Linked DNA regions of Homo sapiens: all the other regions are linked to region 6. The links are contacts of gene promoters, found by promoter capture Hi-C in human tissues and cell types (Jung and others, 2019). All regions are on one chromosome and are shown on one strand. The core of a region is centred on a gene start or on the middle of the fragment in contact, and the rest is flanking DNA. Distances in the headings are between cores, read along the strand shown.

Region 1 (3,344 bases), core at 379-2,878, 230 kb before region 6:
GCCACCACACCCAGCTAATTTCTGTACTTTTCATGGAGACAGGGTTTCACCATGTTGGCCAGGCTGGTCTTGAACTCCTGATCTCAGGTGATCCACCCTCCTTGGCCTCCCAAAGTGCTGGAATTACAGGTGTGAGCCACTGTGCCTGGCCGACATCTGTATTTTTAAAGCAACTCTTGCGGCGATTCTAGATAAACGGGCAGGTTTGTGAATTCCATCTACATCACTGGGGGTGGATTTTATTCTGCGCTCCTCTCACAGTATGTATGGGGCAAAGGACCCTCTTGAGGATGTACAGTTTGGGAAAGGCCAGTCTTTGAGGGTCTTCTCTGTGGGTGGTAAGATGGAGATCATGGTTAGGGTGATTTGAGTAGGGGGAGGTGGGGAGAGGTGTTAGAAAGATAACCAATGTTTATTGGATGCTATCTCGTTTAATTTTTCCAACCAAATGTGATGAGTCGGTGGTGATAAAAATATAGGTTGTTATTTGCCGAATGCCTACTATGAGGTGAGCAGGACACTAGTGATTTGCATGCAGTATCTTGTGGAATCCTCACTACAGCCTGTGAGCTGTAGGTCACATTATTTATCCTCATTTTACAAATGAGGAAACTGAGGCCTTGAGATAGTTGAAATGACTTGCTCGAGGTCACCCATACACACAAGTAGCAGAGCCAGCGTTTGAGATTAGTACTGTCAGACTTCAAAGCCCACGTTTTCCATGCTGAAAGTTTTAATCAAAAGCATTAGGCTATTGGGTCAAATAAGAATCCTGCATTATAAGTACAGTGTCAGAATTTTTTGAGAAAGCTGCTTGTGCCATCTTTCCTCAAGGTACGGCCCTTTGGCCTTTCCAGTCCTGGCTTTGAGAACCTTGTTATTTCCCTAGGCTGAGACCAGCAGCCAGTCAGCTGTGCCCGTCCTAAGGCTGTCTGTGTTGTGGTCTGCTGTTCCTCCTCCTCAACCCCTGCCTCCTTCCCTACACAGCCCCTGCATGCAACTCTTCTCCCCAGACAGGCGCAGAATCGGGGCCTTCCTCAACAAATAAGCCAGGTTCCGGAAGTGCTGCAGTTTCCACCCAGGTGCAAGCCCAGCACAGGCCTCCTCTTAGCCAGCACTCATCCGAATCCACTCACTTGCACTCAGGTGGTTGTCCTCCTCAGTAAACTGAGAAGCAGTAGGGCCTTGTGATTGACGGTGTGGGTATGAAGCTGGACTGCCTGCATTCAAATCTTGGCTCCACTTCTTCTTGGACAAATTACTTCATATCTCGGTGCCTCAGTTTACTTGTCTGTAAGATAGGGATAATCCTGTTTCCCTCATATGATAGTTGTGGACAAGATTAAATGAACTACACCTCGTAAAATGCTTGGAACAGGACCTGGTGTGTGAGTCTCCCGTATGTTAGTCATGATGATGGTGATGATGATTACCAGTTTGGGGGTTATCTTTGGCCACCCTTCCTTTGGCATGGGGAGGGAGCCCACCCATATGCAAGCATTAACCCTGAGTCTTACAGTAGGGAAATAAGGGCTTTGGAAACAAACCCGGGTCTAACTGCAGGTAAGCTGCTTTTTTTTGTTTGTTTGTTTGTTTTGTTTTTTTTTGAGACAGGGCCTCCCTCTGTCACCTAGGCTGGAGTGTAGTGGTACGATCATGGCTCATGACAACCTCAAACTCCTGGGCTCAAGTGATCTTTCCACCTGATCCTTCCAAACAGCTGGGACTACAGGCACAAGTCACCACACCCAGATAATTTTTTAAAATTTTTTATAGAGATAAGATCTCACTATGTTGGCCAGGCTAGTCTCAAACTTGTGGCCTCAAGCAATCCTCCTGCCTCAGCCTCCCAGAATGCTGTGCCTGGCCTGGCTGCTTTTTTAATGTGGTGCTAGGCAAGTACCTCAACCTATTTGTTTTTTAATCTATAAACTTGGAATGATAGTAGTACCTGCCTTATGGTGTTGTAAATGTGAAATGCAAAAGTGTAAACAATGCTTCTCAGAAGGTGCATGGGCTCAGCTGACATTGAATGAATAGGAGGAAAAATTAGTTGAATAAGCTTTAGTAGTAAGTGAAAAAAATAAGCTCAAAAGATTATATTACAGCACAATACAATGTAGAGAAATTAAAAACAAATATTGGATGGCAGGAACGTCAGGTTCTGGGACAGCTGGAGACAGTGGTGGTGACTGGAATAACTTTACCAAAGGAAAGCTATTTAGTGAACTGTCCCCTCCAGTAGAGTTGGCCAATGTGCTTTGTAACAGAGCCAGACTGTTTTCCTATCTCCCAGGATTTTACTCTTTAGTTAAAACGTTGGCAATCCCAAAGCCTTTTCAACCGCAGGATTGTCAGGTTTAGGTGTCTCATGTGGCCGCTCTACCTCCAGATATATGCTCTCAAAAGGTGTGGCCTGATGAAACTATGGGACCGTTTGGACCTCAAGATCAGAGGTTCAAGCTTCCTGGGATCATAGGTTTTGATTGTCACCTCAATGGGACTGCTTCACAGAAGAAAAGCCTGCTTTATAAAACTTTGCCTGATGTTCTAGCAGAAACTTTATCAAGTGAAAGACACAAGTTTGTGATGACACAATATGTGAATGAATTTCAGGGTAATGATGCACCTGTTGAACAAGAAATTAACAGTGCAGAAACTTAACTTTGAAAGTGCCAGAGTGGAGTGTGCAATACAAACGTGTCCAGAATTGTGGCGAAAAGATTTTGAATCACTGTTTCCAGAAGTAGCTAATAGCAAATTAATCATTCTGACTGTAACACAGAAAACTAAGAATAATATGACTGTTTAGAGTGAAGAAGTAGAAACTGAAAGAGAAGTGCTCTTAGAAAAGTTCATCAATGTTGCTAAGGAAATTTGCTGTACTCTTTGTGCTGAGGGATATTGGGCTGACTTTACTGACCCATCATCTGGTTTGGCATTTTTTTGGACCATATACAAACAACAATCTTTTTGAAACTGATGAATGCTACCGACATTTAGGATTCTCTGTTGATGACCTTCGATGCTTAAAGTGATTCGTCATAGTCTCTGGGGTACCCGTGTAGTTGTAGGAAGCATCTTCACTAATGCAACACCAGACAGCCATATTATGAAGAAATTAAGTGGAAATTAGCGGAAATGTCCATTCATTTGCTGTATTATTTGTATGTAATATTTGGGTTGATCTATAAACACTGTCAGACTAAAGTTTTTAAAATATACTTATTTCTATTTATTTCAGCATTTATGAATTTACAACATTGGTAAGTGATATGGGATTTTAAAATTGCAAATGTTCATTATTCATATCATTGAATACATGTTGAGCACACCCACATTGT
Region 2 (3,432 bases), core at 180-2,679, 130 kb after region 6:
AAGCCTGAGCCACTGCGCCCAGTTTTAAATGCATTTTTGACTTAGGATATTTTCAACTTAGTTTATCAAGATGTAACCCCATTGTAAGTAAGAAACATTTGCATTCCACAATAATAGTCATATGAAGATGGTACACTGTCCTAAAACAAGGGCTTTGTGGTTTTATTTTTTAATTTTTTACATTTTTAAATGTTTTTGAGATGGAGTCTTGCTGTGTCACCCAGGCTGGAGTGCAGTGGCATGATCTTGGCTCACTGCAACCTCCACCTCCAGGGTTCAAGCGATTCTCCTGCCTCAGCCTCCCGAGTAGCTGGGATTATAGGTGCATGCCACGATGCCTGGCTAATTTTTGTATTTTTAGTAGAGACGGGGTTTCGCCATGTTGGCCAGGCTGGTCTCAAACTCCTGACCTCAGGTGATCTGCCCACCTTGGCCTCCTAAAGTGCTGGGATTACAGGCATGAGCCACCATGCCTGGCCGGTAGTTTTATTTTAAAATTAACACGTGCTGTACCTTTACGGCAGAAAACTTAAAAAGCAGAGCAGAGAAAAACAACCACCACTCCAACAAAAAGATCGCAGCTGCTAACATTTTGGTTTGTGTCTTTTTGTTTTTTATTCTCCCAAGTATATGTACATCTTTTTCTATCTTTTCAAAATGTGATACTGTTCTACAGTATGCTTCCCCCTTCCTGGTTTTTTAAACTTAGCAATAGACTGTGAATCTTTCCCATGGATGAATTGCTTCTTAAAATAGATGTTCCATTGAAAGTAGCCATATCCTGGGCCGGTAGATTCGTTACTATTCTTTTCTTCTTCCTCTTTTTTTTTTTTTTTTTTTTTTTTTTTTTAGTTGAGACGGAATCTCGCTCTGTCGCCCAGGCTGGAGTGCGGTGGTGCGATCTCGGCTCACTGCAAACTCCGCCTCCCAGGTTCACGCCATTCTCCTGCCTCAGCCTCCCGAGTACCTGGGATTATAGGTGTATGCCACCACACCTGGCTAATTTTTGTATTTGTAGTAGAGACGGGGTTTCGCCATTTTGGCTAGGCTGGTCTCGAACTCCTGACCTCAGGTGATCTGCCCACCTCGGCCTCCTAAAGTGCTGGGATTACAGACATGAGCCACCACGCCTGGCCGGTGGTTTCATTTTAAAATTAACACGTGCTGTATGTTTACGGCAGAAAACTTAAAAAGCAGAGCACAGAAAAACAACTACCACTCCCAACAAAAAGATCACAGCTGCTAACATTTTGGTTTGTGTCTTTTTGTTTTTTATTCTCCCAAGTATATGTACATCTTTTTCTATCTTTTCAAAACGCGATATTGTTCTACAGTATGCTTCCCCCTTCCTGGTTTTTTAAACTTAGCAATAGACTGTGAACCTTTGCCATGGATGAATTGCTTCTTAAAATAGATGTTCCATTGAAAGTAGCCATATCCTGGGCCAGTAGATTCGTTACTATTCTTTTCTTTTTTCTTTTCTTTTCTTTTTCTTTTCTTTTCTTTTTTTTTTTTTTTGAGACGGAGTCTCGCTCTCTCGCCCAGGCTGGAGTGCAGTGGCGCGATCTCGGCTCACTGCAAACTCCGCCTCCCAGGTTCACGCCATTCTCCTGCCTCAGCCTCCCGAGTAGCTGGGACTACAGGCGCCCGCTACCACGCCCGGCTGAGTTTTTGTATTTTTTTTAGTAGAGACAGGGTTTCACCGTGTCAGCCAGGATGGTCTTGATCTCCTGACCTCATGATCCGCCCGCCTCGGCCTTCCAAAGTGCTGGGATTACAAGTGTGAGCCACCGCGCCCGGCCTCTTTTTTTTTTTTAAAGGTGCGGATGCCCATGGCTGTCCAAATCTGTGAAGCTCTGCACACTGCATTTCCTTCTTGGAAAATTAGCACGTGCATATTAGCATGTAGCAAGCTCTGCAAAGCCCTTTCGTAAACAAGCTCCTCGACTTTGATTAGATCAGTGTTTTCCAAACTGATTTAACACTGGAGCCACTTATTCTCATAACTCCTATTAATGTCTCAGGATTCATTTGGGGAAACACTGTTGCAGGCTGAAGCTTCTTTAAGAGGAAGGAGAAGGTCTTGTGCATTTTTGTTGTTTCCACGCTGCCTTACAACTGGGTTTTAAAGAAATTATGAAAAATGGGATTGGATTGATGAATTCACTTCTAACCAACAGCCACACACGTGTAACTTGGGGGCCAAGGTTAGAGGCTGGGGCTGCACTCCGGAGTGCCTCTCAGTGTAAAGCTAATTGGCCCCTTTGGGGGATGAACCTCTGAACTTGGCCTCGTTAGTGCCGGCACAGAACAGCTGAGTTGGTTTATCTGGTGCCATAAAATTGTTCTCTCACCCAGATTCTCATGCTGTCCTCCAGGTGGCAATGCTGGTTTGTCAACCTTCTGAGATAGCGCCTGATACTTGGGCCGAGCAAAGATGGAAATGGAAGGGAAGCAGATGCGGATGAGGAATGGAGTTGGGAGTGGAGTGATTATTGAAAATTAGAAGACACCCTGTCAGGTTTGCAGCTGACATGAAGCTGAAGCGCAGCCTCATACATTGGGTGTCCAGATTCAGATTTTAAGGAATCTTGAGGAACCAGTAAGCCACAAGTAAATATTACTAGCATTTATTGAGCACCAACTATGGGGCTTACAACGTGCCAGATCATTTCATTCATTGTTTCTTTTAATGCCCTCAACAGACCTATGAGGTAGGTCTTGGAGGTTGAAATAATGGAGCTGGAAATTGGACCTTGATTCCTAAGGCCTGGTATTGTATATGAGAGCTTTGCTAGACTGAAATAAGAGGATATTTACCAGGGATGAAACATGCAAAATGTTTATCCATCTATCTATCTATCTCTCTATCTATCTATCTATCTATCTATCTATCTATCTATCTGCCTATCTCTCATCTATCTCTCATTTCATTAGTGTAGGATGGGCCTGATAACATTTCATGAAATTAATACTAGGGTTTTTTTTTTTAAGTTAGCCACCTGCTAAATAAATCAGTTACAGTTCTGGACTGCATCCTTTAAATGACAACACTCAGATCAGGACAGTGGAGATATTTATTTCCTAGCTCTTCTTTTCATTCTCGTGGTCACTATGCAAGATAAACATGGCCACACTGAATGATCCCAGAGTGGCCGGCTTAAAGTCTAGTTGTAGCACTGAGTGGTTCTACTCAGTATAACTGTATCTCTATTATACTTGTCACCTAGGAAATGTTGAAATTATTTCCCTAAATGCCTCATTCTCCCAGTGGACCATGCGTTTCTTGAGGGAAGAAACCATGCCCTTCATTTCTGTATTCATAGGGCCTAGCAAAGTACCTGGTACATATTAATAGTAAGTCATTAGTAAAGCTTTTTTTGAGATAGGGTCTGGCTCTGTGGTCCAGGCTGGAGTGCAGTGGCACGATCT
Region 3 (3,733 bases), core at 1,171-3,670, 240 kb after region 6:
AGAATTTTTATTCCTTTGAAGTCCCCCTCTAATCCTTTGAAGGGATTTGTTACACAAGACCAAAGGAGCTGGTTAATGACTTGTCCATTTGTGCTTTTAAGAGACATTTGTTTTGTTTTTTCTTTTCCTGCTTTAAAAGAATTGTGCTTTCCTGCTTGAAATACCGCACACACACACATACACCCTTCAATTTCGGCTTTCTATGGTGTTTATTTACCTGGGTTTTACCCTCAGTTACCAGCATAAAAGCTCAACATATTCTCATAAAACACAGGAAGTACCACCATCCAATGAGAATATAAACATCACTATTCAGTCTTGAAGGTTAAGACACCAGTTCTGTAATGAGCTAGGTTTGTTATAACAAAAACCCCCACTTCCTTCAACAAATTCTCAGGAGAAAAATAACATTCCTTTTTAAAAGTATGTTTATGCAAACAATGGGTTTAAAGGGTGGTTTGATCACTTTTTTAAAATAAACTTAAAACTGAGCTCTGAGTTTCAGAGACTGGGCAAGATCATAGTAACACAATAAGGGAGTGAATTGGATGAATTGGTGCCTCATGCCTTTTTGATCAGCAGAATTTAGTCACTAATCCTTTCAATAGAAGATTAATCTGAAGGTTTCATTTCCCTGAAGGAAGTTTGCTTCTTTCAAAGTTTGTGCTTTTTCACTGAGGTTAGAAACTGAAACATCCTAACTTCCTAATACAACAGATATCTACTGCTGGAGGCTCACCAGCTCCTTCCTTCACTTCACTATTTGCCCAACGAAGACAGATTCTGATCAAAGAGGGACAAGCCAGTTGAGAAATTGCTGCAGCACATTCTCCCCATGCCCTTAGAAATTGTTATGATTGTCCCAGAAATCCAGGCTTAAATGATACTCAGGTGTAATATTCAAGATAAGGGTCTGGGAGAATATAAAATATTAATTTGAGGGTGAATCAATCTAATTCAGTCATTGTCTTGGATTGTCCACTAAGTATAATGTGATATTATCATTAATTAAGTATAGAAAGACAGAGCCAATATCTTATACTTTACTTCTCCATCTCATCTCAGGCCATCACCGTAACTCTTTTACTTTACATTCCTCCTGTTGTCCAGTATCCTACTAGATGCTTCATTGTGTACTTCCTCAAATCCAGCTTGGGTCATTACAATCAGCATCTCCAAATTACAGATGGAGACTTGCCTAGCTATATGCAAATGAAACATTTGGACAGAAAGCCAGCCAGAATTCATGAACACAGATTCCCTTGCTGTGCTACTGGTGGCCCCCACTGCCTCCCCTGTGAGTAACAAGAGCAGTTCATTTGAATTCCAGGCAGTTTTGCACCAGCTAAGGGCAAATTCTCTTCTTTCACAGTCCTTTGGCAGCATCAACATCGGGACATCCAATGTGCGTCCAGGTTCCATGAGTGGTTTTGAAAGCCCAGAGTAAGACCATGGGCTGTGGAAAGAGAAGAGATGCAACTCTGAGTTGATACACATGAAAAAGCTAGGGTATTAGTTATTAGAAGGGGAAATGGCAGTCCTTATATACAATCTGTAGAAACAAAGGAAAGAAAGCAAGGCTTCAGTGAATGAAACCTCGTCTCTACTTAAAATAAAAAAAATTAGCTGGGCCTGGTGGTGGACACCTGTAATCCCAGCTATTCGGGAGGCTGAAGCGGGAGAATCACTTGAACCCAGGAGGTGGAGGTTGCAGTGAGCCGAGATTGTGCCATTGCACTCCAGCCTGGGCAATAAGAGTGAAACTGTGTCTCAAAACAAACAAACAAAAAACTATAGTTTTGAATTTTTTTGAGCTAGGGTCTCACTGTGTTGTCTAGTCTAGAGTGCAGTGCTCACTGCAGCCTCAACTTCCTGGGCTCAGATGATCCTCCCACCTCAGCCTCCTGGGTAGCTGGGACTACTGGCTCATGCCACCAAGCCTGGGCAATTTTTTATATGTTTTGTAGAAACAGGATTTTGCCACGTTGCCCAGGCTGGCCTCAAACTCCTGGGCTCAAGTGATCCTCCTGCCTTGGCCTCCCAAAGTGCTGGGATTACAAGCGTGAGCCACTGTACCTGGCCATTTTTTTTCCCCAGATAAACTAACTTGAGCTTCCCATTTTCTTGTTCCAAAGATGATAGTCTCATGAAGTGCTGTTACACTGTGTCTAGAAAGTGTGGGCATGGCTTTAGCACTCCTAAATATTCATAAGGAACACTTCATACTTCACATGACGGGATCACCTGAAGTTGTCAGAGTGTTATAGACATTGAGCCACCTAGCCTCCTGTCCCCAAGTATAATGGCTGCTGGGCTTTATGGGCACAGACCAATTAGGACACAAGGTCGCCTGGTAAGTTAGTACCAGTTAGAAATAGGAGACATGGATTTATACCTGCAGGGTACCCAGGAGGAAACTCCCTTTGGGAATTTTACAGATGGAAGAAGGTCTGTTTTTTGAAACATAATAGATTTTTAAGAAATAGATTTGTGTTTAAGTAAGGTTCCAGAGAACACTTGCTAATTATTATAAATCAACACGTATTAAGTGTTTGCTGTGTCCCATGTGGGGGACACTAGAATAATTCCTTCCACTCCTTTATTTTCTTTTAGCAAAGTTATTTATTTTTAAATGTAAAAATGTATTCAGATTCCAGTGAAGCAAAGTGAACAGGAGATGCTATGCATGGCGTATTAACGAAAGAACACGTGTCACAGCCTATTAACAATTGCTGGATTGAGATGTCAGTGTCTGTTTAATTGCCTTCCACTCTCTTTGAAATAATCATTGCCCCCACTTCATTTTCTTCCTCAAATCAACTTTATCCAAATCAATTTTACTCTTATAAAAATGTTCAGGTAAGGAAAGAAAGGCCTATTTGATGTCCTTCGTGTAACAATGGCCTTACGATATGGGATTTTCCTCCAAGTATTCCTTCAGTAGGAAGAATGGAAAATGGAATTTCTGTAAAAAAGTAAAATTAGGAGAATTCCTATTATGTCCTGATGGAATTTTGATTTTGGAAAGAGAAAGCAACCTAAAATAATTTTTGGTCTCATTCTTCTTTCTTCCTCACCTCTGCTTTTGTGCAGTTGGTTAGGGCTGGAGGGAGGATGGCACTGGGGATTTGCAGATTCTTAGCACTCTGGGTCATCTGCTGCCCTGGCAGTGAGCGACTCTTTTAGTCCAGAGTGCGTCCTTTGAGGTTAGGCAGTGCCCTTGGGTGTCCAGGTTATGGGAGGAGGAAAATGAGGGAGATCTGTGAAGATAGAGTCAGCGGGGAGAGTGGGAAAAAGCAGAAGGAGACCAGAGGTGCCCAGGTAGTGCTGGGCATGGGCAGGGGCACAGTGCCACCTGCAATTGCCTTTGATGCCTCTTGGTGCCCTGTGTTTACTTCTTAGACATCTAGGGAGTAAGGTCTGGCTCTTTCCCGTCTTAACCCAAGGTTGGTTGGGACTCTGCAGTCTGGCCAAGGGATGTGTTGTCCTGTCCCTTCTCCCTTAGGTCACTGAAAGGCAGTCAGGTGAGATGCCCTGTCTGGCCCAAAACGATCTCGGACCCTCGGTGCTGGTCTCACTCTGGTGAGGCTGTCCCTGATGCTTGGCCTTCTCTCCAGGGAACCAGTGGATGAGGTGCTGCAGATCCCCCCATCCCTGCTGACATGCGGCGGCTGCCAGCAGAACATTGGGGACCGCTACTTCCTGAAGGCCATCGACCAGTACTGGCACGAGG
Region 4 (3,766 bases), core at 153-2,652, 180 kb before region 6:
TTTTCAATAAAGACAAGGTCTTACTATGTTGCCCAGGCTGGTCTTGAACTCCTGGGCTCAAGCAGTCTTCCCACCTCAGCCTCCCGAAGTGCTGGGATTACAGGCATGAGCCATGACAGCACCCAGCCCAAGTCCTATGAGTTAACACATGTATTCATTTGTGCAACCACCACCATGATGAGGAGGCAGAACAGTTCCATCCCTCCAGAGCTCCCTCCTGCTATGCCTGATAGTCACACCCTTCCCTCCCCCAGCCCCGGCAACCACCAATCTGTTCTCCATGGTGGTAGTTCTGTCTTGTGTGAATATCATATAAATGGAGTCATGCAGTATATAAGCTTTTGAGGCTGGTTTCTTTTACTCAGCATAATGTCCGTGAATATGTTTCTAAGCCTCCAAGGGGAGACATGTTGAGAGTCCTAGCTAAAAGGCTTTTGTTTTGCTGGGAATGATGAGAAGAGCAGAAACAGCATGAAAATGGTGATGGATGGTGAGAACCAAAAACAGGAATGGGAGATCTAGAGGTGGATGCTGGAAGAAGGGTGCTGGCGAAGGAACCTAGGAATGGAAAGGGGGATCTTTTTTAAAATATTTTGAGGCCGGGCATGGTGGCTCATGCCTGTAATCCCAGCACTTTGGGAGGCCAAGGCAGGTGGATCACTTGAGGTCAGGAGTTCAAGACCAGCCTGGACAACATGGTGAAACCCCATCTCTACTAAAAATACAAACATTAGCTGGGTGTGGTGGCGGGTGCCTGTAATCCCAGCTACTCAGGAGGCTGAGGCGGGAGAATCGCTTGAACTGGGGAGGCAGAGGTCGCAGTGAGCCGAGATCGTGCCACTGAACTCCAGCCTGGGTAACAGAGCAAGACTCCGTCTCAAATAATAATAAAAATAATAAAGTAGGGTCTCACCGTGATGCCCAGGCTCGTCTTGAACTCCTGGCTCCAAACGATCCTCCTGCCTCTGCCTCCCAAAGTGCTGGGATTACAGGTGTGAGCCACCACATCCAGCCTAAAATTTTTCTTTACTAATTTTTTTTTTTTTGAGACAGGGTCTTTCTATGTTGCCCAGGCTGGCCTCAAACTCCTGGGCTCAGGCAGTCATCCTGCCTCTGCCTCCCAAGTAGCTGAGACTACAGGCGATTATAATGTTTTCTTCTATAAATGTGCAATGTAAATCTCTTTTGTTTTCCCCAACTATAGTATTGGGTCATTGAGTTGAATTTATTTGGGCAATGTACCAAGAGACTCCTTTCCCAAGGTGCAAGTAGGCCCAGGACAGAGGCTGCCCATCAAGTTTAGACCATCCCAGTTACAGACACAAGATGCAGGAGGGGAACTTTTAGCTTAGTAAAAGAAGAAACAACGGAGTAAAAGAAGTGCTTGCCTCTCAGTAACCTGGGCATCTCTTCCCAAAAAGCAGTCAGAAGCACCCAGCCAATTGAGATGTCATAGAGGCCCATGCTGGGAGAGTGGTTGGAGAGCGCTACCCAGCTCTTAAAAATACTGAAATCCCTGAGTGAATCTAGCATTTTGTGCACGTGTGACGGCTCCAGGGTAGAGCAGCAGGCCCCTGTGTTCCCAGCCATGCTATCTTAAGGATGAACCCTCGCCTGGCCTCCCTAAGATTGCACGTATAGAATGGCCTTGTAAACTACAAACCTTTTGAGGTGTTTTTGTTATTACTGTCCATTTCTGCACCTTTGTGGTTAAGAAGGCCTGCAAGATAATTAAAAGAGGGGAAAAAAGGGCCACCCTGTTTTCCGTTGGCAAGGATGCATTGCCATGTTCCTCTGGTTACCGCCAGAGCAAAGCACGCACTAGGTCCTGCTATATAATGATGAATCCCCAGGGACCCCCGATAGTGATCGATAGCACCCGCCTAACTCTGGGGCTTGCATAATGAGCTGCGTAGCCCTGCCAGAGTCATCATCCAGCCTCGGGGAAACCTCCCCTCCCCCACTGTCCACTTGTACAGCAAATGTCCCCCTCCCCACCGGTCCCCTCGGTTGGGTTTCCTTTTGATTGGCAGAGACCCTGTGATTTCCGCCTGGATTGCCTGACAGCCCCCCTCCGCCTGGTCTAATTATGCCAGGGCTGTTCTTGGGCCACAGCGACCCCAGGAAGGCTTTATCAGATTGTCCAACTGACCGTGACCAGATCTCCAGCACCTGCCTCTTTTGCTGACTGAGGATGGAAGGTGTTTACACACAGCGGAGCTGGCAGCTGATTGACTGGCCAGGGTCCTGGGCTGAGGACGGCCAGTCTGAGTGTCAGTGATGAAAAATGGGGTCTGCCTCTCCACCCAGCCTCATTAACACCCCTCTGGCTCCAGGCGGTATCAGGTGGGGTGTGTGCAGGCACACAGCCTGCTGCCAGTGTTCAGGGCCTCCTGACAGATTTCTGGCTGCAGTGCTGGACTTGGGTCCATCTCTTATCATTTTAATTTATTTACAAATATTTATTTATTTTATAAATGTTCCTATGTGTGTTTAAGCCCTCCGCTTTCTCCACCTCTCTGGTTACAGTTACCCATCCCCTGCTTCTTGTTCATCCGTCAACAACTCACCCTAAGTATGACCTCCTCACCTCTGTCTTCCACTCTCACACCTTTTCTTCCAGCGTCAGCTTTCATGGAAGCCAGTCAATAATTCCTGTTTGCAGGCCGATTTATTAGTGTGATTAAAGTTCTGTTTCTGAATAGAAGCTTTGGTGCTGCCTGCCTTTTCCAGGTACCCAAGGGTGATTCTGGTTATACAAAGAGGTTCTGTAAGGCAGCTCAGACATTGGGGCCAATCCTTCTGGTCACTCTGGCAAATGGCCCATTTTGATAAGAACATTAAATCATCCAAATCCTTTAGGGTTACACGGGGGTCATTTGCTCATTAATCACCAGTGGCCTGAGAAGCTAAAGGTTTCCCAAAGCTGAGCCATCTCTGCCCTACAGGATGATGTGACGTGGCCCATTGTCTCAGTTCAGCTGAGCATCCCTGGGCTGAGCCCAGTTCTTCTATCTGAGACATGGATTGGGCCTTACAGCCCAGAGTGAGGTCTCTGCACCAGCAGCATCGGCATTACCTGGGGGCTCGTTAGAAATGCAGACTCTCAAAAGCCCCACCATAGACCTCCTGTATCAGAGCCCTGTTTGGACAAGATCCCAGGGATTCATGTGCATGGCACAGTTTGAGATGCTCTGCATTATCAATCCAGGTAGGGAAGCCCTCCTTTAGATTTACCAAGAAGCTGGAGAACTCAGCAACTTACTTCCATAAAACTGGCTAGTGAAGCATTCTCTCTTCCTTCTGGCTTTAGAAAGGATCTTATTAGGAGATAAGAAAGCCAGTTGGAAGCCTGGTTGCTGAGAGTAAGGAACCAAATGTGGCCCCTGGGACTAAGTTTCCTGGCAGCTGTGTCTCCTTATTCTTGGGGAAATATTTTGCAGTTGAAAGACCACCTACAAAAAATAGTATCCTCAACGGTCACCTTGTGATGCTACCCTCTATGCTGGCTGGCATTTAGTTATAATATTCTGTCCTGACCCATGCTCTAATTTGCCTTTGATTAAATTTGGAACTTTGAAGCTTAGATTTATGAGATGGTATTTTTTCTCAATATATACTTTGATACTTGCTAAATGGATATATGCTACTTCTTTAATCAAGACTTTTTTACAGGCTGGGTGTGGTGGCTCACACCTATAATCCCAGAATTCTAGGAGGCCAAGGTAGGCGGATCACTTGAGGTCAGGAGTTCGAGATCAGCCTG
Region 5 (3,289 bases), core at 170-2,669, 150 kb before region 6:
TTTCTATGGGGACAACACAGATTGGAGTTATTGAGGCGGGTCCTGACAGTGGAGTTGCAGGGGTCATTAGAGAACTGCCTGAAGGCTCTGCTGCCCCTGCCTGGGCCTTGCCTCCTTGAGGGACTCTGGGCTGGGGACTCAGGGAGACTGGGGTAGCATGGCCTGTGACTGATTGGGATGTGCTTTGGAGGGATTAGGTGGGTCCATGTGATTATTAACAACCCCTAGGTAGAGAATATCTCCTCAAGGCCAGGTGCAGTGGCTCACGCCTGTAATCCCTATACTTTGGGAGGGTGAGGTAGGTGGATTGCTTGAGCCCAGGAGTTTGAGACCATTCAGACCATTCTGGGCAACATAGCAAGACCCTATCTTTACAGAAAATAAAAATAAATTAGCCAGATGTGGTGGTGTACGCCTGTAGCCCCAGCTACTCAGGAGGCTGACATAGGACAATGCCTGAGTCCAGGAGGTCGAAGCTGCAGTGAGCCATGTTTGCACCACTGCACTCCAGCCTGGGCAACAGAGCGAAATCCTGTCTCAAAAAAAAAGAAGTCACTCCTCAGTCGTATTAGCTGCATTTCAAATGCTCGATGATTGTGTGGGTTAGTGACTACTGTGTTGGACAGCACAGATACAGAGCACTGTCACCATTACAGAAAGTTCTAGAGGCTACCTGATTCATCTGAGTATATGATGGCAAGCCTTCTCTTTCCTTGGCTGGGTTCTGTGCCCGTTTCTAGTGTAAAAACTCTCCTCCACCTTCACCTCTTAGAGGCCTCCTGGAGATGTGGCGCTCTGGGTTGCTTTTGATAAGTACCAATTCTAAATGCTGCAGTCGCTTTTTCTTCCTTCTCTGCTGCCATAGAGCCACATCTTCCTGAGCCACGTGTGGCTCTTGGGTTCATTTTCTTTTCATTTTTTCCACCATGGTGTTCTGAATGGACAAGTCAGAATTCAGAGGTTGGTATTAAGACCTATCTTCATAACAAGCCCACTTCATCGGACCATAGGCCACCTGCTATTTGTACTAACACTTGGGGTCATTTCATGTGTGAGGAATAATGAAGTTGCACTGTATATTCAGAACTTTAATATTTCTTAAATAAGTTTGTGTTTTACCAGCTAAGCTGCTCAGAAGGCATTTGACTACTATGAGTGGCTCTGTGTGTAGATGAGCCCTGGTTGGGTAGCAGTTCAGAGCAACTCAAGAAATCTGGCCAGAGACAGGACAAACTCTGTCTCATCCTTGCAGCTGCACAGCCATGACAGTCCACAAAACGGAGAATTTGCCAGCAAGATTTTTTAGGTTGTAATTTTCCTCTTGGTTAGCCTGTGGCTCTCCGTCCGTCCCCTCCGGAGTGAAAGAGCGTGAGTGTTGAGATAAGAGACTGGGAAAATAGACTTCATGAACCATTTTTCACTTGGGAAACAAAAAAGTCATTGGTGATTTTGCCTTGAGTGTTTGGAACCTGACACCAACCTCGTCCTCCACCAAGCCCCCAAATGTCACACTGTACAGGTTGCCGACACCATGTCTCATTAGCGACTTGATTCTCCCCCAACCCTGGCTTCTTTTCCCAAACAAACCCCCTACAACTGGAAGGTCAGAACCCCGGACAGCTTTTTACACAGCCACCATATGGTGTTTGCTTTAGCACGGATCCACAAATGATGTGTTATTTCAGTGGAGGTGCAGAAAATTATATGACAAAACCGGGTTTGTTTCTCTGCTAGAAACCCAAGGCTGAAATACTGCAGTATTCCTTCAAGACTGACTCAGAAGACGAAAGGGAGCCTTTCCCAGAATTAGGGGGCATTCACCAGGGACCAGAAGGGAGGGGGGAGAAAGACAACATTGCACTGGTCACTAGTGGCTGGGCCAGTGGTTTATTTTCTGTCTGTGTTTTATTAAGTTTATGTTTTCCATCTGACTGTTCCTCGTGTGATTTATTTGTCTCTAGGTGCCCCCCGCCCCACCCCCCACAAGTAGATGATAAAACCGACGGCAGTGTGGACAACACAGTTGCTGAGACTCTTTGGTTGGATTTTACGCAGGAACAGAAATAGGTGTTGGGCTAGTGCCAGGGTGTTTTGTGAGGACTTAATCTCCACCTAGTGGGTTCTGCACCATTTTGGACTGAATGCTGATGTCCTGAAAACTGGGCTGGGTAGTGATGCCCGAAAGGAAATGATCAGGAGTTGGGTTTTACTTAAGAAGACATTTGGAATGTCCTTGAGGCCATTGTGGGATCACATTTCTCCCCCTCTATTTTTATGGCTCCTCGGATAAGACCGGTAGAGGAGGGGAAAAAAAATGTATTTAATTTCTGGGCGGGCCTGGTGGCTCACGCCTGTAATCCCAGCACTTTGGGAGGCCGAGGCGTGCGGATCACTTGAGCTCAGCAGTTCAAGACCAGCCTGGGCAACATGGTGAAACCCTGTCTCTACAAAAATATAAAAATTAGCCAAGTGTGGTGGCACGTACCTGTAGTCCCAGCTACTTGGGAGGCTGAGACACAAGAATTGCTTGAAGTTGAAGTTGAACTTGAGTTGAAGTTGAAATCGCTTGAGGTTGCAGTGAACTGAGATTGTGCCACTACACTCCAGCCTGCGCAACAGAGCGAGACTGTGTCTCAAAAAAAAAAAAAGAAGTTTTTAATTTCTGACTCACTTTTCTAATTTTTAGAAATATAACTTAGAACCATGGAGCAGCTTAAAGGATTTTGAATCCTGAGCACCTTGTCCTTTTTGATCTGAGGAGATCCCTGCCATGGGCTGTCTGTACCGTTCTCTGCTGGGTGCATTCCTTCCTTTTACTTCCCAGAGTTGAGGGGAAAGGTGAGAAAGTGATGTGGATCCTGATAGGGCTCCTGGGCAGGACAATTACTCTAGGCCCTTAGGCTAGAGGTCAAGTTTAGGAGAAGATCACACAATGGAAATAGTTTAGGAGTTTAGAGAGTGAAGTGCTTAATCCGATTCAGCTTGAGCCAGATCTCTGAATTTCAGTTTTCTCATCTGTAAATGGCATAAATGTGCTCTGTTTGCTTGTTGTGAACATTGAATGATATGGTATGGATGGAAGTAATTTGTGCAAAATTTGGCTTTATGCCTTTGTTGTCCGGTATAGTACCCACTAACCATATGTGGCTATTTACATTTAAATTAATTAAAATAAAATCAGGGCTGGGCATGGTAGCTCGCACCTGTAATCTCAGAGGTGTGAGGCTGGCAGATCACTTGAGGTCAGGAGTTTGAGACCAGCCTGGCCAACATGGTGGAAACACTGTCT
Region 6 (3,464 bases), core at 624-3,123:
CTACTTCTGGATGGTGGGACTTTTATTTTGTTCTTTTGTTTTTGTGGAATCTTAAAAAATTCACGTGTTACTAATAAAGTCAGGGAAATCAATAACCATCAATGAATAATTCCATGATGTAATGTGTCCAACTGTTTCCTCATTTTAGGGAAAACGATATTGAAGCCTTTGTACAGACAGACCTCAAAAGTTCTCGCCGGGAGTGGTGGTTCATGCCTGTAAGCCCAGCACTTTGGGAGGCCGAGGCGGGTGGATCACCTGAGGTCAGGAATTCAAGAGTATGGCGAAACCCCGTCTCTACTAAAAATACAAAACTTAGCCGGGAGTGGTAGTGGAGCTGCAGGAGAGGCTGAGGCAAGAGAATCACTTGAATCCGGTAGGCGGAAGTTGCAGTGAGCCGAGATGGTGTGCCATTGCACTCCAGCCTAGGCGACAGAGTGAGACTCCGTCTCAAAAAAAAAAAAAAAAAAGTTCTGTGATTACCTACAGTAAAATACTGCATCATCCCAATAAATACATCAAAAAAACCATCAGAAATATCACTGTAAAAGTAACATGCTACTTAGATGTAAAAGTGACATGCTACTTAGAAACTCTGGTACCTACTGCATTATAAACATAAAGCTCATTTACTGAAACTTACCATACCTTAACTGTCCCTTCTAACCTTCCAATCCAAACAGATTTTAGCATATGTCTTACTATAAAACACTAAGTCACTGTCAAGGACCCCAATTTATACGTAAAGGAGAAAGTATAAAGAATTCAAATATCCCGAGGCAGAAAAACGACAGACAGAATTCACACTCAAGTCTTCCTGACTCCAAAGCCTGAGCTCTTCCCAGTTCGCCAATCTTCCCAACTTGTAAACCTTGTGTTGCCGGCCACATAAAGATCCCGCAAAAATCAATCAACAACTAATTAATGGGGGCTGCCTTTTGCTCTAGCTACTGTGGGAGCCCCAGAAGTAGTACCACAAGGCCCTTGACTTCAAGCTTGCATTCTTCTTGAAGAAGGTATTTAAGAGAATGAGATGAGGAACAAGAACACAGGTAAAATTAGATGTAAAAAAAAAAAAAATAGCTATACTGAGGGACCGGTCAGATGAAGGAAGGGCTGAGATTACTATGGGCTGAAGCTGTCATGGAAGGCCTGGATGGGGAAGGCCTTGAAGGAGATGATTATTTTTCGCTCACTCATTCGTCTATCTACACATAACATCTATGTGGCAGGCACCATTTTAGGTGCACTGGCAAACAAAACCAAGTCCTGAATGTGACTGCTGAATAAAGAGTATAAAGGAATGTGCACAGTGAAGGATTTAAGAACGTGGAAGGATCTGGAATCAGATTACCCTAAGTATAATGCCCAGACCTGCAGCCAGGCACTGCGGGCAAGCTCCACGGAAAACAACTGTTGTCACCCACCCATTCACCCCGACTCCCCAGTTACAGGCACTACTTAGAGGTGGTTATCGAGCCACGCAAATCCCCGAGGACGCTCGAGAAGCACGCGCCGAGAGCGGCTGCGTATTGGAGAGGTGATTCTGTTATCTTGGAGCGCCCCAAAAGAGGGGTGGAGGACAAACGGCGTAGGCCAGGTATCCGTCCGGATGCAGAGCCTTCATCCTGAGGCCGGTCCCCTCTCGACCCAGGAAGAACACAGACACCGATCTTGGCATCCATACCCGGCCCTCCCGCGTTGGGTACCTGCGCCCCGAGCCCGGGGGATCCCAGCCAGTGGAGAAGGGGAAGCACGTGGGAGCACGGAACAACTCCGAAAGAGAAGGCACAGCTGACTGCCCCTAGCGTATGCCTGGTGTCCGGGTCACGTAGTAAGCCTGGCTCCGCGGCACGCGTCCCTCTCAGGAACTGGTAGACAGCACGTGCGCAAGCGCATTAAAGTCGCAGAGATGGCGAGCGAGAAGGGACCTTCCTCAAGGCTGTCGCTGAGTAATGACGTAAGCCACCAGAAGCGGAGCTGAGGCCTAGATGTCCACTGCGGTTGCGCATTTTAGTCCCACTGCTCGCGGTAGCTGGGTGTTGGCTGCGGTTTGCCTCTTCACTCTTCATATCCCAGCTAAAGTACCTCGGCTAAGAAGGGCAAAATAGATGTCCGCACCCCAGGGCCTGCCCACGTAGGTCCAGGGTTTTCAGCGTCAGCCTGGTTACGCGAAACGCGACGGATCCAACGATTTGTGTTCAATTTAACCGATCCCCGTTAAGTTGAGGAAACTCGGCCAACAGACCTATTTTATTGGTTTCGCTTGGCCCTCCACCCCCACAGTACTGATCTTACAGATGGGAATCCTGTAATCTACCCATGACTGCGGCCGCTGTACTTTGCAGGCTCCCATTAGGCCTGTATATGGTCGTCAAATGAAATTACTCCCCCTGGGCTTCCAGTGAACTCCAAGAACATGACTACAGGGACAACCTATACATAGTGTTGCATTCTTGACTTTGGGGCAGATCGCTGAACTTCAAAAAACATTATCAACTGCTTGATGTTTCCTCCTGGATACCGCAAATGTCTGAATCCAAACCCCTTCCCCAGATACACTTTTAATGTCATCAGCAGCACTACCCATTTAATCCAACATCCATCATGAAATTTTTTAGTTCATTCAGCAAAATGTGAATATGCCCACGCACTATTCTGCTCACAAGGGATAGTGTCCAAAATGTTCCTGCCCCTCGTGGTTAATTCTAGGTTAAGTTTTAAATGCTATTAAGCAGAAGTATCCAGTGAGTAAAGTGACTAAGGATACTATTTTAGAAACGAACACTGAAGGCCTCTGACGGGGTGACACTGGATGGAACAAGGACCTGAAATTTAGAAAGAATGAGCCCTGAGAATATGAGTGAAAAACTTCCCCGTGCCAAAGATGTACATACAAAAGCTCCAAGATGGGGGAGTCCTGGCAAAGCAGTCAGTGTGGCCAAAGCAGTGGGCAAGTGAAGGACCAGATTTAGAATTTAATTCTAGTCATGATGAGAAACCACTGGAGTTTGTGGGGGACAGGGAAATGAGAAAATCTGCTTTGCCCTCTTAAAAGGCTTCCTGTTATGCAAAAACTAAATCACAGGAAGGCAAAAGTAGAAAAAGGAGAACAATTATAAGCTATTGTAGTCACCTGTGCTAGGATGGTAGTTGTGGTAGTAGTTAGAAGTATAAGATAACTCTGGATATTCAAGTTAGAACCACGTGGACTCACTTAAGGATTAGATGCAGGTTATAAAAGTACATTGAAGATGGCACCCAAAACATTTGCTCTGAGCAACTGGATGAATGAACAACTGGTGTTGGGTAATCAAGGAGTTGACTTGGAATATTGAGAAATTCATATCAAGATGTTGAATATGAGTTTTGAGAGGTTTGGGGCCTAGAAATATTCAGGACTAAAATGCTGATCATATTCAAAATCATGGGATTGGATCAGATCACCCAGGGAAGAACACAGC

Evidence for each region. The method cuts DNA at HindIII sites, captures the fragments that hold promoters and counts their contacts. A contact is called where the count stands out against the background at its distance.
Region 1: a fragment that was not itself captured here is called in contact with the fragment with the promoter of NAT10 in region 6 in 2 of the 25 tissues and cell types used here (lymphoblastoid cells and spleen).
Region 2: a fragment that was not itself captured here is called in contact with the fragment with the promoter of NAT10 in region 6 in 1 of the 25 tissues and cell types used here (lymphoblastoid cells).
Region 3: a fragment that was not itself captured here is called in contact with the fragment with the promoter of NAT10 in region 6 in 4 of the 25 tissues and cell types used here (IMR-90 fibroblasts, hippocampus, lymphoblastoid cells and 1 more).
Region 4: a contact is called between a fragment that was not itself captured here and the fragment with the promoter of NAT10 in region 6, in 1 of the 25 tissues and cell types used here (spleen).
Region 5: a fragment that was not itself captured here is called in contact with the fragment with the promoter of NAT10 in region 6 in 1 of the 25 tissues and cell types used here (liver).

What each region holds. Positions count from the first base shown.
Region 1 is chr11:34,334,906-34,338,249 of GRCh38, reverse strand. The region is part of intron 1 of ABTB2 (ankyrin repeat and BTB domain containing 2); the gene reads left to right. It also overlaps the pseudogene MMADHCP2. Among named protein-coding and RNA genes, the nearest start is that of ABTB2, 21 kb to the left of the region's middle. The HindIII fragment of the contact is 6,139 bases long and covers 1-3,344 here.
Region 2 is chr11:33,970,158-33,973,589 of GRCh38, reverse strand. No RefSeq gene overlaps it. Among named protein-coding and RNA genes, the nearest start is that of LMO2, 80 kb to the right of the region's middle. RefSeq lists a silencer at 2,234-2,528. The HindIII fragment of the contact is 6,594 bases long and covers 1-3,432 here.
Region 3 is chr11:33,864,702-33,868,434 of GRCh38, reverse strand. It overlaps LMO2 (LIM domain only 2), which reads left to right. Exons shown (of 6, transcript NM_005574.4): 5 at 3,618-3,733. Among named protein-coding and RNA genes, the nearest start is that of LMO2, 26 kb to the left of the region's middle. The HindIII fragment of the contact is 9,832 bases long and covers 1-3,733 here.
Region 4 is chr11:34,283,424-34,287,189 of GRCh38, reverse strand. All of the region lies in intron 1 of ABTB2 (ankyrin repeat and BTB domain containing 2), which reads left to right. Among named protein-coding and RNA genes, the nearest start is that of ABTB2, 73 kb to the left of the region's middle. RefSeq lists enhancers at 1,672-2,172, 2,173-2,673. The HindIII fragment of the contact is 3,486 bases long and covers 1-3,145 here.
Region 5 is chr11:34,254,857-34,258,145 of GRCh38, reverse strand. All of the region lies in intron 1 of ABTB2 (ankyrin repeat and BTB domain containing 2), which reads left to right. Among named protein-coding and RNA genes, the nearest start is that of ABTB2, 100 kb to the left of the region's middle. The HindIII fragment of the contact is 4,651 bases long and covers 1-3,289 here.
Region 6 is chr11:34,104,038-34,107,501 of GRCh38, reverse strand. It overlaps NAT10 (N-acetyltransferase 10), which reads right to left and starts at 1,873. Exons shown (of 29, transcript NM_024662.3): 1 at 1,710-1,873. RefSeq lists an enhancer at 1,661-2,120. The HindIII fragment of the contact is 6,988 bases long and covers 1-3,464 here.